Linked DNA regions of Homo sapiens: region 1 is linked to region 2. Evidence: promoter capture Hi-C in 16 types of primary human blood cells and fetal thymus (Javierre and others, 2016). All regions are on one chromosome and are shown on one strand. Each heading gives the region's core, a stretch centred on a gene start or on the middle of the fragment in contact. The rest is flanking DNA. Distances are from core to core; before and after follow the strand shown.

Region 1 (3,004 bases), core at 207-2,706, 280 kb after region 2:
TTGTTCATGCGTGTTCACAGACGCATACGTGGGGGCCGTGCTCGCCCACAGACTTACCTCCAAAATGTCTTTGAGTGTGTTCACATAGGTACACGCATCACGTGTGGACTCGCGCAGCCATGCACTGCTTACACACTCAAATATAGGAACACCCATGGGCATGTCTATATATACACTCACAGGCACAGCAAGTGATGCCCTTGTTCTTGCCAAAGGTTGAGGGAGGGACAAAGCGCCTAATTTAGATCTGAGACAGGATCTAGTGTGGACTAGGTACCCCTCTTCCCCAGTGTTTACACTACTTATAAATTAGTTGCGTTTGAGAAACTACATAAAAAACCTGGAGATTTCACCTATAGATCTGGATTTCTGGCTTCTTTTGCAAAATCAGAAGCTCGGGAAAATTAAGGCATACTCCCAGCTTATCACAATGCGCTGGGGCTGAGCTGCAGGGTATCCCTCAGTCTGTGATTAAAGTTCCCCTACCTCCACCCAAAGGCCCCCTCCCCATGCTGGTTCCTTCTTCCCTAGCCAGGATTTCCCACGTGGAGCCTCAGCCCTAGCCCTGACTTTGGAGCTGGGCTAACTAGCTTTAGCCCTGATGTCCACAGCAAGGAGATCCTCTCCACTGTATGATGTTGGGGGGGGGGGTGCTGCCAGCCATAAGGAATCCCTCTGCAGTCTGCAAAGTACCCTCTTCACGCAAGGACGTGGTTCACCACAGCAGAACCACGTGTGGTTCTGCTGACAGCTCCGAGAGCAGAGCGCTAGTGCTTCCATCTTATAGTTGAGAAGATGGCGGCTTGGGAGTAATGATATTACCACCTAGTTGGAAAGTGCAGATGGGGTTGCAATCACTGTAGCTGAAGTGTGGGAGGGGGAGCAGGGTTCCTCTACTTTAAGGTGCCCCTGAAGCTGGCTCCTGCCTGGCTCTGGCACATCTGTCTCCCCTCTCTGATATTGTTCCTCTCAGCCTCTGGCCTGGTGGGGACGCCTGGTTCACTGAGGGAGAGGCCAGTTCCTGAAGCTTCTGGGTGTCTGCATGATGTCAGGCTCTGGCTAAACTAGCGAGTGGCAGCCCAAGAGGCAGTGGGGAGCTATGTGGATGTTAGTGTCACCCACTGCCCACCAGTCCTGGTGCCCCTTACTCCTGCATCATCTCATCCACTCAAGGGCTCTGGCTACCTCTGAGGGCTGACACCCTGCCCAGTGGCTCACCTGAGCGCCTGTCTCACTTATTCTTCTCCACTGGAAATCTGGCATGTCCTTGACTCTCAGCATGTCCAAAGCCAGTCTGTGAAGTGGGGTGACCTCAGGTGGGGTGTCCAAAGTGGGTATAGCCTGAGCTCAGATCCCAGCTCTCCTTCTCCCTCCCTGTGTGACCCTGGACAAGTAATTGCCCTCTGTGCCTTCAGTGTCCTCCTCTGCAAACTGAGAACCATAATAGTACCTGCTTTGAGGATTGCCCAGTGAGGATTAATTGAGGAAATTTACACAAAGCAATCTGTGTGGTGCCCAACACAGATCCGGTGCTCAGTCAATACCAGTGCTTTTTAACTTTAGCTGGTTCTTCCTTCCGCTGCTCCCACCTTGGTTGGTTTGTACTTTCACCAACCCAGGACAGGATGCTGAGAATTACTCCTGCTCCTCTCTTTGCATCTTCCACACATTCAGTCCTGTCAATTTGACCTCCCCAATATCTCTGGAGTCTGCGCTCTCCTCTCACCCAGGGTGCCTCTGCTCTGGTTTGGTTTGGTGTCACCTCTGGTCTGCACACTTGTGTCCCCTAGCCAGGTTCCCAGGCTGCAGGCTCCTCGAACTTAAATCCAGTTTCATTGCTGCCTTTGAAATGCACATGGTGTCACTCCACTCTTAAGGTGCACATCCAAGCTTCATGACCTGGCATTCACTGTGGGTGGCTGAAAGGATAGCCATGGGTCTAGGGTGAAATTTTAGGAAGTAAAGCTGGATGTGTGCTTTTTCTCTCACCGTCCTGTGTCTGCCAGACCTCACATTTAGCAGCCAGTGGACCCTTCACTCCCACCTATCATACACATTTTCTCCCCTCCATGCCTTTGCCCAAGCTGTACTCTCTGCCTGGAAATCCCCTTCCCCACAATTCCAACTCTGCTTTCTGTCTTGAGCTCACCTATCCAGACCCTCCAGCCTCCCTTTATATTCAGTTGTTACCTCTCTCTCATGATCTGCTTAGAGCACCCTGCATATATTGCCTTGATTTTGCACTTAACCTCATTTGTCATATTTCTCTGTTTACATACCACCCAGACCAATGCTTCTCAAGCTTTATCAGGCACATGAACCACTTGGGGCTCTTTTCCAAATGCAGATTCAGCTGGTCTGGGCTGGTGTCTCTGTATTTTTAACAAGCTCCCTGGTGATGCTAATGGTGCTGGTTCAGGACTATATTTTAAATAACAAATACTTGGATAGTGAGTCCCTAGAGGGCAATGACTTGTGTTCAGTTCATCTTGGTATCCCTGGTACCTAGCTAACAGCTTGACAAATGGAAAATCAATTAAATGCCTACTGAAGTAAACGAATGAATGAATGAATGAACGAAAGGCATCTCATCCAGATGAGAGTGTTGGAAAGTCTTTTGGAGTTGTTGACACCTGAGTTGCATTGTTAGGGAGGTATAGGAGGGAGCCAGGTAGAGAAGGCAGTGGCGGGTTGAGATACTCCAGGTGAAGGTCAGTGCTAAGGCATAGGGATGTACAGAAGTGCAGGTGCAGGATAGTGTAGGAATGGAAGACTTGAAGTTCAAGGTGTTGGGGAAAGAGACCAGGTCGCCAATAGCCAGCCCTGGATTCCGTGCTAGCTTGTTTGATCCTAGAGCCTTTGGAGAATGGCATAATTCCAACCGTGGGCCACTCCTGCAGCAAGCTAGGAAGAAATTCCAGGGAGGAGATGTAAGACTGGGTAGTCACCTAGGGGACTTCTCAGTCAATGGTGTGGAGATCAGCCCATGGCGGTGAGGATGGAG
Region 2 (3,314 bases), core at 454-2,953:
CTCCCAAAGTGCTGGGATTACAGACGTGAGCCACCACTCCTGGCCTCTGCTAGAGGATTTTAATTGACAATACCCTTAATTTGCACTTTGACAGAAGCACTTTCTCTGTTTTGTGAGAATGTATTATATCTGACTGGGCGCAGGTGTACAGGTGGGTGTGAAGGGCCAGTGTCGATGTAGAGCTACCACATGGGAGAATGCTGCATTCACCTAGGTAAGACACCTGTTCTAGTGAATGGCAACCATCCACACAGCTGCCCAAGCAAGGCATTCTGTATATCCGTCTCAAGGTCTCTCGACCTCTAATTCTTTCCACCATGAATCAAGAGATTTTCCAGAAGGAGAACTCTTATCAAGATACTCTCCTGTTGAAAATCCTTCAAAGGTTCCTCACTGCCTACAAGATGACTTCTTAACACAGCTTCAAGTCTTCTGCTTCCTTCTGATCACCTGTGTTCTCTCCCTCAGGTCTGCTCCTTGAAAAAAGCAGTTTGGTCTGCTTTCTTTTGCCTGGACCCATTATGTGCTCTCAAAACCCCCTGGACCTACCCTTGTCATTGCACTTGTCGTACCCAGTGTTGACTTGTGTACCTTCTCCAACTAGATTAGGCAGTAAAAGTTTTATTCAGACCGTATCTTTAACGTCCAACACTGGGAATAACGCGCAGTATCCTCCTCAGTGTCTGCTGTAAGAATGATGAATTCACTTTTTTTTTTGAGACACCGTCTCACTCTGTCACTCAGGGTGGAATGCAGGAGGTTGCCCACTGCAACCTCTGCCTCCCAGGCTCAAGTGATTTTTCGGCCTCAGCCTCCCGAGTAGCTGGGACCACAAGGGCGCGCCACCACGCCTGCTAATTTTTGTATTTTTGATAGAGACGGGGTTTCGCCACGTTGCCCAGGCTAGTCTCAAACTCCTGAGCTCAGGAGATTCACCCGCTTCGGCCTCCTAAAGTGCTGGGATTACAGGAGTAAGCCACCGCGCCCGGCTGGATTCACTTTCTTACCGAGAACTCTAAGAAGGAGCCACCGCCTAATAACGTATTTCTGAAGGCAAAAGTCCGGATAGCAGCTTTATTTCTGACACTGCCATCCGTCGGCCTGTGGTACAGCTTTCTAGTGGGCAACCCCATCCTTTTGGTAAGCAACTACTGCCTCCGTGTCAGACGCTCTGCGGCTGACAGAATTAGAGACAGTCCCCGCCCCAGATTGCTCCCCTCGCTGCAGCAGGGGATAGTTCGCTGAAGAACAGGGATCATTGTATGACTTCAGGAGAATGCGAGCTTTGGCCCAGGGTGCACAAATCATTAAGGCTCAGGCCACTCCGACTTCTCCGCCCAAGTCCAGGGACCTCTCGAGGTGCTGAAATCCCCTCAGCCTGACCAATGCTCTTTGACCAACGCTGGTAGTTCTGGGCGCTGGTCACACCTATGGACTACTGGCCCTCCCCTTCCCATTGCACCCCATCTCTGACCCTGCAAGACCCGGGACCGCTGACCTCGGACCCCTTGCCCTATTTCTCAGCCCTTTGGCCACTCTTACTCCGTCTTACATTTTCTTGGCCACATCCGTCTCCCGGAACTGCTCCTTCACCATGATGACCGCTGCCGGGACGCCTCCTTGGCACTCGGGAGGCCAGATTAGAGAAACGATGCCCCCAGCACCTCCTGGGGCTGCTTCTGGACTCGCCGCTAACACATCTGCGGCATCCTCTCGGCCACCGTAGAGTGTCCCACGTGTCCGCTTCCTCTTCCGCTACTCGCCCGCGCGTCTGTCTGTCAAGAGAGACTTCCGGCATGCCTTTTTTTTTTTTTTTTTTCCCTTTCCCCGCACCGTCACCTGGTGGCGCTTACTGGAAGCCGCACCGAGGCGTGTGCTGTATTTTAAAAATCCCATTTCTGGTCAATTTCTCCACGTAATCAGACACCCGCAGAGAAACTGCATATAACTCTTTGCCTCAAGGCTTTTAGACAAGCAGAGGGCCAAAACTTGCATAAAATGGAAAATCATCATCATTAACATCAGTACCATCTAAATTAAGAGCTTCTAATTGTTTTAAGGGAAGGTGGAAGCTAAAATGAACCGGCCCATCCAACAGAGGGCACTATCTGTGGAGGACCAACAAAGGAAAACAGAGCGGAAAATATGGGCGCACATGTGCCTCCAGTTCATGAAGTTATTTGGAGGGAGGGGGGAAGAATTAAACTTACATTATTGATTACAAAAACAGTTGAAAATCTGTTAGAGTGAAAACAGCCATGGTAATCTACAGAAGAAAAGGGAGAATGGAAAGTAAAGATCATTCATGTCTTGAAATAAGTTGTCTACAGTCTGTGAGAACTTGTGGGAGGTGATCCTAGTGTGATATATTAGTGCATGAGCCTAGCAAGGAAATCACATCACCACAGGGCTTAGCGCTTAGAATTAGAACTAAGTCCTCATTATTTGTGAGAAACTCAAAACAGAACTTAACAAAAGTGTTTAACAACTTTCAATTTTTAAGAAGGGACGCTATCTCATTTTCAGACGCCATGGATCCTCACTAGCAAAACACAATGTCACAGACAAACGAGGCATATCAGGTTTTTCTAACTCATTTCGGTACTCCATCACTTAATCATGAAATAATGTTGACTATATATATATATATATATATATATATATAGTCAACATTATGGGTTTTTTTTGTTTTTTTTTTTTTTTTTTTTTTGAGACGGAGTCTCGCTCTGTCGCCTAGACTGGAGTGCAGTGGCGAAATCTCGGCTCACCGCAACCTCCGCCTCCCGGGTTCAAGCGATTCTCCTGGCTCAGCCTCCCGAGTAGCTGGGACTACAAGCGCCCGCCACCACGCCCAGCTAATTTTTGTATTTTTAGTAGAGACGGGGTTTTACTATGTTGGCCAGGCTGGTCTCGAATCCCTGACCTCGTGATCCGCCCGCCTCAGTCTCCCAAAGTGATAGGATTACAGGTGTGAGCCACCACACCCGGCTCTGATGTTTACAATATTATACCAACAAGGGTTGGATCGTGTGTGACTTATCTAGAGGTTAAGAGCAAAAGTTATGAAATCACAGTGCCATCATGGGAGTCTAGCTTTCACCATTTAAAGTTGTGTAGGCAGCCAGGCGTGGTGGCTCACGCCTGTAATCCTAGCACTTTGGGAGGCCAAGGTGGGCGGATCACCTGAGGTCAGGAGTTCGGGACCAGCCTGGTCAACATGGTGAAACCCCATCTCTACTAAAAATACAAAAATTAGCTGGGGTTGGTGGTGTGCGCCTGTAATCCCAGGTACTCGGGAGGCTGAGGCAGGAGAA

What was found. Contacts are between HindIII fragments. The CHiCAGO score rates a contact against its expected background, and 5 or more counts as called.
Region 1: a contact is called between a fragment that was not itself captured here and the fragment with the promoter of POLR3A in region 2, in 2 of 17 cell types (total CD8 T cells and naive CD8 T cells). The highest score is 6.1, in total CD8 T cells.

Annotation. Positions count from the first base shown.
Region 1 is chr10:78,303,718-78,306,721 of GRCh38, forward strand. All of the region lies in intron 1 of LOC124902468 (a long non-coding RNA gene), which reads left to right. Among named protein-coding and RNA genes, the nearest start is that of LINC00595, 38 kb to the left of the region's middle. The HindIII fragment of the contact is 863 bases long and covers 1,026-1,888 here.
Region 2 is chr10:78,027,812-78,031,125 of GRCh38, forward strand. It overlaps POLR3A (RNA polymerase III subunit A), which reads right to left and starts at 1,704. Exons shown (of 31, transcript NM_007055.4): 1 at 1,553-1,704. The coding sequence starts at 1,596. RefSeq lists an enhancer at 1,624-1,873. The HindIII fragment of the contact is 13,008 bases long and covers 1-3,314 here.